Linked DNA regions of Homo sapiens: regions 2 and 3 are each linked to region 1. Evidence: promoter capture Hi-C in human tissues and cell types (Jung and others, 2019). All regions are on one chromosome and are shown on one strand. The core of a region is centred on a gene start or on the middle of the fragment in contact, and the rest is flanking DNA. Distances in the headings are between cores, read along the strand shown. Region 1 holds the start of UXT (ubiquitously expressed prefoldin like chaperone). Region 2 has its middle 33 kb from the start of ARAF. Region 3 overlaps LOC124905183 (a long non-coding RNA gene).

Region 1 (3,495 bases), core at 926-3,425:
AAATTTGACAGCAAAGACTTATCCCATCCTGGTTATAACAACGAAAATATCTGAACACATTCAAATATCCAGTGACAGAGGAGTGGCTCAAAAATCTGAGGCCATCCAAAGAATGGAATGCTATGCAGCCATGTCAACAATTATCCTATGGTCTGGAAAGAAAGCAAATGTGATCAAATATTAACAACGAGTGAATCCAGGCCGGGCATGGTGGCTCACGCCTGTAATCCCAGCACCCTGGGAGGCCGAGTTAGGCGAACTGATTGAGCTCAGGCATTCGAGACCAGCCTGGGCAACATGGTGAAACCCCATTTCTACAAAAAATTAGCTGGGCATGGTGGCTCATGCCTGTAGTCCCAGCTATGCAGGAGGCTTAGGCGGGAGGATTGCTTGAGCCCGGTGGCAGAGGTTGCAGTGAACCGAGATCACACCACTGCATTCTAGCCTAGGCAAGAGAGCAAGACCCTGCCTCTAAAAAAATTTTAAAAATTCAAAATAAAACAACTGGCGAACTTAAGTGCAGGGTATATGAGTGTTCACTGTCAACTTTTCTGTAGGTTTGAAATGTAAAAATAAAGTTGGAAATACATTTTTAAGTAAAAAATTCTTTTTTGTGAAATATAAGTTAATAGACTTACACAGACTCATCTCCAGCCCATCAGAATTGTGTTCTCTGTTAAATAAATATGTGTCTTCTTTTCTCTCTTTTCACAGGAAAGTGGTATAGATTAACTAGATAATATTTTTCTACCTAGTATCTATTCCAATCACACTCAATGTAATTTAAACTATATGTAACATGAGATTTACAGACCAAAAAAACTAATCTCAATGTTTTCATTTTACAATTATCTCGTTCTAAGGGCAAAGAAAAGCTTAACTTGGCCAGGTGTGCTGGCTCATGCCTATAATCTCGGCATTTTGGGAGGCCGAGGTGGGCAAATCACTTAAGCCTAGGAGTTTGAGACCAGCCTGGGCAACATAGTGAGACTCTGTCTCTACAAAAACTTTTTTAAAAATTAGATGGGCGTGGTGGTGTATGCCAGTAGTCCCAGGTACTCCAGAGGCTGAAGCGGGAGGATCACTTGAGCCTGGGAGGTTGAGGCTGCAATGAGTCATGATCATACCACTGCACTCCAGCCTAGGGGACACAGACCCTGTCTAAAAAAGAAAAAAAAGAAAGAAAGAGAGAGAGAGAGAAAGAAAGAGAGAGAGAGAGAAAAGAAAGGAAGGAAGGAAGGAAGGAAGGGCTTAACTTGCTTGGGTTTTGAGCATTTGAAAAAAAAAACTTGCTTTTACATATGAAACACAAATTATCTGGGAAGACTTCCTTGGTAGGGGTGGGTGCTCTAGGCTCTACAGATGGAAATAGCATTTGGGGATTCATCCCATGGTCTGGATTCTTCTCCAGGCAAAGGCCCATTCTTGCTGGGTTATAAGTTCTTGTTTGAAAATCTAACCTGAAAAATAAATTCACTCAGTCACTCTAGTGCATAAGAATAAATTCACAAAAACCTTACCATTTAAATAAAAACATGGGAACTATGCCTAACTACAAGATGGCCAATCTTCGGCAGAGGACTTCAGCCACCCTCTCCATTTGACTATCAAACGAGGTGATTAGACAGAGAGTGTTGTCAATTTCCACTTGAGCCTCACTTATGGGTTGCGAGTGCAGAGCTGGAGTTATCAAAGATGAATTTTAGAAAACCTGTCTCTGTTTAAAACCTTTTAAATGCTTATACTCAGTCCCATTGCCAGGAGTGAAATCCAAACCTCCCGTGTGAAAAATCAATATCCAGGCCGACAGATCACACGGGATCTTCCTTATAGACCAGAACCATAGTCAATTTTTAGGTCCTTTTAAATATTAAACTCTTCACTTCCTCTACCTCCACCTGTGCGTCGCGCCTACCTTAGAACCCGCCAAATCCCATTAAATCCCACCCCCACCAGCCACACACGGTCTCCATAGGCTCCAGGCGCCGCTTTTGCAGTCCCCCATTGGCCGGTTTATTGCCAGACGGCCCCTGCTCGCACGCCCTAGTCTTCTTTGATCTCCTCGGATTCCGTGAAGCCCTGCCCTTCTCTTCTCCCCTTTGGCCCGTCTTCTTCCACTCAGGCCCGCCCCTCCCCAACTGGCTATTTGGTTGGCCAGCGCGCTTGCCACTTACGTCATTCACCCGCGCCACCCGGAAGCCGCGGTTCCTACCAACCGTTCTTATTGCTGGCGGCCTGAGGTAAAGGCCGCGCTTGGGTGTCCCTGGGTGGTCGGGTCCCCGAGTTGGGAGGGGCGGAAGGCTGAACCTCCAGCTTGAGCCGGACAAGCCGATTCCCAGCGTTGAGAGGGTAGAGATGAACTGTGTGTGAGGCCAAACTGGATCGGTCAACATGGTCTTCCCCCTCCCCACTCCCCAGGAGCCCATCATGGCGACGCCCCCTAAGCGGCGGGCGGTGGAGGCCACGGGGGAGAAAGTGCTGCGCTACGAGACCTTCATCAGTGACGTGCTGCAGCGGGACTTGCGGTGAGTGACAGTGCGGGGGGCGGGGCGTTTGGAACATTCCACGTGGTGGGTGGGGCGTTCAAAGTTAGGGCCAACCCTTTGAATTGGCGGGCGAGGCGTTCAGAGTCCGGCCCCGCGCTCCTTGGAGCGAGAAGTGGGGACGACATCCGGGGTGCAGTTTGGCTGGGACGTGGCGTTCATAGCAGGGGCGTGTCAGCGCATGCGCGGCCTCCGATGTTTAACAGATTAAGGCTTGTTTTCTGGAGCCACAGTTCTCGGGTTCGAATCCTGGCTCGGCCATTCTTCATCCTTGTGAATACGTCCTACCTCGCCTTTCTGTGCCCTATAAACTTTACTCTTCTGTGAAATGGGGAGTTTTCTGGAACCTTCCCCATGCAGTGGTTTTGAGTTTTTGATGTGTCCCATCTTTGTCAAGAATTTAGCATGGATGCCTGAAACATAGTAGAGGTTCAATGAGTATGAAGAAATATTATTGCAATCTTTGTTAATCTAAGCAGGAAATAAGGTGTTCAGAACTAGGCCTATGAGCATCCTAAAAGGGATGGAGGATTTTTCTAGGGTGAGGATGGGACATTATGATTGGAGTTCAGTATTGGGAGTATAATAATAGTAATTATAACTAACATGTATATAGAGAGTTTACCATTTGATAAGCATTATTCTAGATGCTTTGTAGTAAACGCTCATTTAATCCTAATGACTCTACAAGGTAATACTGTCATCTGTATTTTATAAATGGGGAAACTGAGTCCCAAACAGGTTATTTACTTGCCAAAGTCACACATCTATAAAGGATAGAGCCCAGATCCAAACCCAGGCAGTCTGACCCAGAGCCGAAAATTAACTTATGCACTAAAAAGCCTTTTCAGTGTATGGTGACATGAGAGTCTCAGAGGGTCATGATATGAGGTATACTAGGAGGAATGGGGCTGCCTATTGGTCACCATTGTACTTTCGTCCCATCAGAAAG
Region 2 (3,863 bases), core at 1,333-3,832, 130 kb after region 1:
GAGAATGCCATGCGAAGATGAAGGCAGAGATGGGGTGATGCTTTTATAGGCCACAGAAGGCCAAAGATCGACAGCAACCACCAGCAGCTGGAGGAGAGGCCTGGAACAGCTTCTCCCTCACAGCCCCCAGAAGGAACCAACCCTGCCAACACCTTGATCTCAGACTTGCAGCCTCTAGAACTGTGAGACAGTACATTTTTGTCATGGAAGCCCCAGTTTGTGGTAGGTTGTTATGGCAGCCTGAGCAGATTAATCCATCCTTCTCTGCTGGTTTGTCTCCCAGTCATTCAACACTGTAGCCAGGGAAATCAGATCCAAAGAGAAATATTCCCCTGTTCTCCTGCTGAAACCCACTCAGTGGTTCTTCCTCACCTCCAAAAAGTGGCCCATGCACCTTCAAGTGGAGTCAAGGTTGTTCCTATCCTGGTCCGTCCTAACTGTCCCATCTTTCAAGCCCCCTCCCATTTCAGCCTTTTCACTGATCTGCTTATGGTCTCTTCACCACCTGGTGCTGGTTTATGTCCCTGGGTCTTGATTCCTGCTGGTCTCTCTGTTTGTAAAATTCCTCTGTGTTTCCTTCAATTGGTTCATCCTTATTCCTTCAATGCAACTTTTTAAAAATTTATTTGTAGTAGAGACAGGTTGCTCTGTAGCCCAGGCTGGAGTGCAGTGGTACAATCATAGTTCACTGAAGCCTCAAACTCCTGGGCTAAAGCGATCCTCCCACCTCAGCCCTCAGCCTCCCGAGTAGCTGGGCCCATAGGCATGCACCATCGTGCCCAGCTAAGTTTATATATATAATTTTTTTTCTAGATATGAAGTCTCCCTATGTTGCCCAGGCCGGTCTTGAATGCCTGGGCTCAAGCAATCCTCCCACCTCAGCCTCTCAGAGTGATGGGATTACAGGTATGAGCCACTGAATCTGGCCTCAGTGCTAGTCTCTTTTAGAAATAATGATACTTGGCCAGGTGTGGTGGCTCATGCCTATAATCCCAATACTTTGGGAGGCCGAGGTGGGAGGATCGCTTGAGCCCAGGAGTTTGAGACCAGCCTGAGCAATATGGCGAAGCCCCGTCTCTACCAAAAACCAACAAACAAACAAACAAAAAACAAAAAATTAGCCAGGCATGGTGGCGCTTGTATTCCCAGCTACTCAGGAGGCTGAGGTAGGAGGACCACTTGAGCTGGGGGAGGCTGAGGCTGCAGTGAGCCAAGATTGTGCCACTGTGCTCTAGCCTGTGTGACAGGCTGAGACCCTGTCTCAATAAAAAGAAAGGAAATAATGATACTCAATGCTAAAATGGAGTATAATGTAGGATTTTTAGAATAAAACAACTCACTTGGAAAGCAAAACCTCAAGGAGGGTTATGCCCTTATGCCCAGGAATCCTGCTGTGGCCAGATAGTTAAAGGGAAAAATGGAGAAACAGGTCAATGTTTCCAGATGAAATGATGAGCCTTTACTCTTAGCTGCAGCATGAGTGTTCATGTCGTGGCCTGGCCCTGGGCCACTGTGACATGGGGACCTCCAGCACAGAGAAGCCCGCTGTTTCTTTCCTGTGATTCCAGAGCCTCACAAGACAGGCATGGGACTGAGCCCCAGAACAGTGAAACCCCAGACCTGGTGGCAAAGGAGCAGCAGGAGCTGAAAGTGCCCGCTGCAGAGCTGATGGTGTGGCACCAACTCAGGGTGTGAGGGGACTGTCTTTCCGTGGGGGTCACACCGAGTGTTACCACCTCCTTCCCTATCAAACACTGGGACAGGCAATATATGTGGGGTGGGACCTTTCTCTTCCTTTCTTGTTGGTTGGGGTGGTGGTGAGTAGGGAAGAACCAAGGAGAGAAGACAAGGATGGAGTGCTTATGTGGCCACATAGGCCCAACTTTGGGCCTACTCTCCACAAGTGAGAGGAGGGGAGAGGCCCCAAGTACCAGCCTGTGACGGGGCTGTGGTCGCTCACACTGTGGTCAAGAAGGCCCAAGGCAGTTAAAATGGAGGCACTTCTGCCAGGCATGTGGGGTCAGACCCACAGGTCTCCGAGGAGCTGGAACAAGGCCTTCATCCTGGCTTCTCTCTGCAGAGAACACCCCTGGGCCTGCTTTCTGACAGAACTTGCCTCAAGGAGGGGGTGGGTGGCAACCCAGCACTTATTTGATGCCTACTGTATGCTAGGCACCATGCCAGCTGCTTTTCTGCAGCTTATCGAATTCGATGTTCACAAGAAGCTTGCAAAAGAGTATATGGCATCTGCCTCCCACGCCTCCTGCCTTGATTCAAGTCTTCATCCCCTCTCACCTGGATTATAATTTTCATTTCCTAACTGTTTTCTTTGCTTCCAGATCTTGGTTTTGTCTATTTGTCTTTATAGACAAAGTTACAGAATTTTTAACTGTATTCAAACACACAAATGGTAGCAAACTGCACTGGCAAGCATGTCACTTTTAAGGAGGTTGGGCTCTACCTCATTACCAAGAAGTACCTCAGATTCTGAGGAAAAGCAGAAACTCTCGAGGTGCCAACCTGCTTCATGGGCCTGGCCTGCTCCAGCCTCAGCCCCACAGTTACCTGGATGCTGCCTGGGCCCGGGGCAGGGGAAAAGACAGGAAGACTCTTTCCACTCAGCAGTGCTGGGGAGCTGGAGAGATTGTGGGTCACTGAGATGAGACCTCGAAACTGACAGGCAGAACTCTGGGTAGCTATCAGCCTCTCCTGGGGGTATAACAATCCATAAAGAAAGAACACCAACTTAGCCTGGCACAGGGGCTCACATCTGCAATCCCGAGGCAGGAGGACCACTTGAAGTCAGGAGTTCAAGACCAGTCTGGTGGCCAAGCATGCTGGCTCATGCCTGCAATCCCAACACTTTGGGAGGCTGAGGCAGGAGGATTGCTTGAGCCTGGGAGTTCGAGACTAGCCTGGGCAACATGGCGAGACCCCATCTACCTTTTTATTTTACAAAAAATAAAAAATTAGTCAGGCATGGTGGTGAATGCCTGTAGTCTCAGCTACTCAAGAGGCTGAGATGGGAGGATCACTTAAGCCTAGGAAGTTCAGGCTGCCGTGAACCATGGTTGTGCCACTGCACTCCAGCCTGGGCAACAGAGCAAGACTCTGTCTCAAAAAAAAGACCATCCTGGGCAGCATAGCAAGATCCCATCTCTACAAAAGATAAAAAAATTAGCTGGGCATGGTGGCGCACACCTGTAATCCTAGCTATTCAGGAGGCTGAGCTAGGAGGATTGCTTGAGTCCAGGAGATCCAGGCTGCGGTGAGCTCTGATTGTATCACTGCACTCCAGCCTGAGCAACAAATGAAGACAGAAGAAGGAAGGAAGGAAGGAAGGAAGGAAGAGGAAGGAAGGGGGGGGGAGAGAGGGAGGGAGGGAAAGAAGGAAGGAAGGATCAACTTGATTCATAAATGGATCGAATCAAATACTTTTGCAGAAATCCTAGCAAATGACTCACCCAGAATATTTAAACATTGTCATTGGGTTGCAGTGCGGGTGGAAACTTGGTGAAAACTAGCCCTCTAAAGGCAGAAAGATCATAGATGTCCATGTTAGGGCTCCACACCAGTCTGAGCTCCCCCTTAACCCACCTTCGCTCCCTGAGGTCCCCCCTTGCATACACACTGCCAGTGGCCAACCTTCCCAAACACCAGTCTGACCAAACATTTCCTCCGCTCCTCCTGTTGTCCTCTGTGATCCAGCTACTGCCCCCCACCCACCTCCCCTGCTCCCAGGCAGCCTTCTTTGTCTACTTGGCAAATCCCTTCTCACCTCCCACAGCTTAATTCTTTTTTCTCTTTTTCTTTCTTTTTTTTTTTTTTTTTTTTTTTTTTTTGAGACAGAGTATCAGTCTGTC
Region 3 (3,461 bases), core at 812-3,311, 160 kb after region 1:
GAGTCTCATTCAGTAAGACTTCATGACTTACTGAAGAAATATGACTTCATATTTCCCAATCATTTTACTCTCATCCAGACCATTTGTCTGGAAGGGTTATATGCTAGAAGGAAAGAAACATTTTTCCAGGAAAATATTTTTATGCAATTTAACCAGAAAGACATATCATGTCCAGAAATAGGTCAGGAAGAATCCGGAACTTTCCAATTTTTTCAAAATGGGTTTCCATTAACTTCCCATTCCTTTCCTCCTCATCATTTACCCAGTGAGCAGCCTAGGGAAAAAAAAATCAATCTCTTGCTGGGGACAGCTGCACTGAATAATCAAACTGTTTCACTAAGATGTGTGCACTAGGAGAAAGGTGAGGGTAGTAGGCTGGGCTCAGTGGCTCACGCCTGTAATTCCAGCACTTTGGGAGGCCAAGGTGGGCGGACTGCTTGAGCTCAGGAGTTCGAGACCAGCCTGGGAAACATGGCGAAACCCCATCTCTTAAAAAAAAAATTATCTGGGTGGCAGGAGCCTGTAGTCCCAGCTACTTGGGAGGCTGAGGTAGGAGGATCACCTGAGCCCGGGAGATCAAGGCTGCAGTGAGCCATGATCGTGCCACTGCACTCCATCCTGGGTGACAGAGTGAGACCCTGTCTAAAAAAAAAAAAAAAAAAGAAAAAAAGAAAGAAAGAAAGAAAGAAAGAAAGAAAGAAAGAAAGAAAGAAAGAAAAGAAAGGTGAGGGAAATAGAGTCAGGCTATCAGTCCATTGGCACAAACTGCATCTAATCCTGAAAGCTGAATGATGCAACAAGTCAACAGCAATGAGACATCTCAAAGAGGGGCACCAGTCCAATCTGTGTGAAGTAGGTGAAGGGGTCACATTCTCTGTTATGTGTCCGTCCCCAACCTGAAGCTTTCAAGAGAAATCACAAGTTAAGAATGCAATTAGTCTCTGTATCAGAAATCTAGAGCCATTCAGCCACCCAATTTTAGATGGTTTCATGAGACCACACCCTTTCCTGTTGGCATTTTTATGTGACCCAGACAATCCGGTCAGCATCTGTATTTTCGTCATTTATAGCCCCACAGAGGCTGTCTTAAATGGGCAACAATTCAGAATCTGAGTCCTGTTCTTTGAGATGAGCCTTCAGTTCCGCACAGCTCACCGCAAGGCCGAAACAGCTGCAGAAGACAGCATCAAGTTTCAGCTCAGAGGCAGGCACAGGCAATTAGGATCTGTGAATCTGGGATTTTTAAAAAGCCCCTGGCTTTCCTTCAGTAGCAGCAAAGCTGATACAAGGAAGAGCCAGACAGCTGTATACCAAGCCCAAGTGACAAACAAGACTTTTCTAAAAGTCCTTTTTATCTTGTTCATTTTAGAGGCCAAATAGACCTACTCAAACATATGCACAGCAGGCTGAAAACCATTAGCCTCTATGGGTCAGGCAGTTCATGGCAGCAAGAGCACATTAGCAAACTAAAAGCTGTTTTTGAAAACTCCCAAAGCATGTTTCTACCCGGAGATTGCCTCTCTTTTTATGTTCTCTCCCTTTTTCCAGAGGCTCCAATGGGCAAAAATCAGTGGTTATGGAGACTTGTTCTGTTTCCAATCCTCAAAGAGTTTAAATTGCAATCCACCCACAGGCAGCAAAAAGCAAGGGAGCTCTGATTCCACAAACACTGTTTTTTTTTCTTTGCAGCTTTCCCTATTAGGATGATTTGTCTAATGTTGATGAAATAAAGCAGATAACATTTTACATTAAATTTTATCATACACCCAGATGCGACAGCCACAAAATACAAAGCCTTTGAATAAACATTCCCCTCTGTTTTCCCCAAACCCCTAGCTGTAAAATCAGCATGTTCCACAGTGAGCAGGTCTATACAAAACTACCCCCAAAGTCCCAGGAAGCTGAGAGGCCAAAGAAAGAGGCTGACATATCCAATTTCTTAGAAGGAAACATTTAATAGGGACTTGCAAACAGAAGCCATGTCTGCGTCTCAGGTAGCGGTAAGAGGAGAAAGTGGATCCCTGTGCCATCAACCCCAGACTCAGGGCTTATATACCATAGGGAAGGGGTGATTCAGAAGTGATGTGTAGAATTGAAGAACGATCACATTGAGGTTATTTAGACCTAAGGGCAGGATTTGTGGTAAGTATGTGCTCTTACACAAGGAAAGATAGCTAGACTGGAAATCTGAGAGGCCTTCCTGGCACTGGAGTTAATCTGAAGTCAACATCGTGGATTAGCATCCAAGATGGAGTTGCTTTAGTTTCCACACCGCATTTACAAGGTTAACATTACAGCTGCTGGAGATGAAGGTTGCAGTGTAAGGAGGGCTTTGAGTTGCAGAGGCAGCTACTAAGCTGTAGAAAAGGCTAGAGTGGTTTTCTTGTTTGGGGGGAATGTTTTTTACTCTTTCTCCACCTCTGGTTTATCTAAAGCCTTGCTCCAGCCCTGGGAACTGATTTAACTATTTTTCTTCCACTTGGAGGAGCGAGCAATGCAAACTTTGAACGTTCTTGATTCACCCAAAACCTGCCTTCAGAAATTTTCTGACCCTTCCCCCTCCCACCTAGGAGAGAGAGCAACTCCAATTAACTGTTATTGTCTTTTCGTTGGTTTTGTTTTGTTTTGTTTTGTTTTGTTTTGTTTTGTTTTGTTGAGACAGAATCTCGCTCTGTCGCCCAGGCTGGAGTGCAGTGGCATGATCTCAGCTCACTGCAACCTCCACCTCCTCGGTTCAAGCCATTATCCTGCCTCAGCCTCCTGAGTAGCTGAGACTGCAGGTGCATGCCACCACACCCGGCTAATTTTTGTATTTTTAGTAGAGACAGGATTTCACCATGGTGGCCAGGCTGTTCTCAAACTTGTGACCTCAAGCAATCTGCCCACCTTGGCCTCCCAAAGTGCTGGGATTACAGGCGTGAGCCACTGCACCTGGCCTGTCTTTAGTGCATAGGAAGCTCACTGGGGGGAATGTCTGGGCCCTTTTTCCTCCCAATTGGAGGAGAGAACAAAAACCAAAGTCATCCTTTGAGCTGCACTTCTTCCTATCTTTAGCCAGCATGGCCAAAAGCAGCCAGGAGATCCAGCAAGCCAACTGTCTATGACTGGATTTATCATTTTCAAATGCCACGGGTAACTTCTACCTCTCATAAGAGATAGCAAGCAGGTCAGCTGCTGTTTTACACCATAGGTAACTCCATAGTGACCCAGGCATGATTTACTCATCCATCTTCCCTCTTCTTCCCTCCCAGGAAGGCTCCCACATAGTGCACCCTCCCCCAGCATCAAAAATGCAGCAACAAGCGTGTCATGTTTCTGCCCAGAAAAGCCCATTAGAGACTCAGTGTCAAAGGTTTTTATTGGGAGTTAGGCACTAGGTGCCCTCTGCCTAGCACGCACTAATATTCCAGACTCCTAGAAGAGAGGCAGATGGCCAGCATAAACCAGATTGTCAGCACAAC

The links. Contacts are between HindIII fragments. The study calls those that stand out against the background at their distance.
Region 2: a contact is called between a fragment that was not itself captured here and the fragment with the promoter of UXT in region 1, in 1 of the 25 tissues and cell types used here (liver).
Region 3: a fragment that was not itself captured here is called in contact with the fragment with the promoter of UXT in region 1 in 1 of the 25 tissues and cell types used here (thymus).

The regions. Positions count from the first base shown.
Region 1 is chrX:47,657,860-47,661,354 of GRCh38, reverse strand. It overlaps UXT (ubiquitously expressed prefoldin like chaperone), which reads left to right and starts at 2,175. Exons shown (of 7, transcript NM_004182.4): 1 at 2,175-2,240; 2 at 2,419-2,525; 3 at 3,492-3,495. The coding sequence starts at 2,428. It overlaps UXT-AS1 (UXT antisense RNA 1), which reads right to left and starts at 2,522. Exons shown (of 2, transcript NR_028119.1): 1 at 2,175-2,522; 2 at 1,244-1,460. RefSeq lists silencers at 1,906-2,245, 2,524-2,603 and enhancers at 1,826-2,327, 2,084-2,343, 2,328-2,831. The HindIII fragment of the contact is 10,601 bases long and covers 1-3,495 here.
Region 2 is chrX:47,525,890-47,529,752 of GRCh38, reverse strand. No RefSeq gene overlaps it. Among named protein-coding and RNA genes, the nearest start is that of ARAF, 33 kb to the left of the region's middle. The HindIII fragment of the contact is 7,227 bases long and covers 1-3,863 here.
Region 3 is chrX:47,499,381-47,502,841 of GRCh38, reverse strand. The region is part of intron 1 of LOC124905183 (a long non-coding RNA gene); the gene reads left to right. Among named protein-coding and RNA genes, the nearest start is that of ZNF41, 18 kb to the right of the region's middle. The HindIII fragment of the contact is 4,884 bases long and covers 1-3,461 here.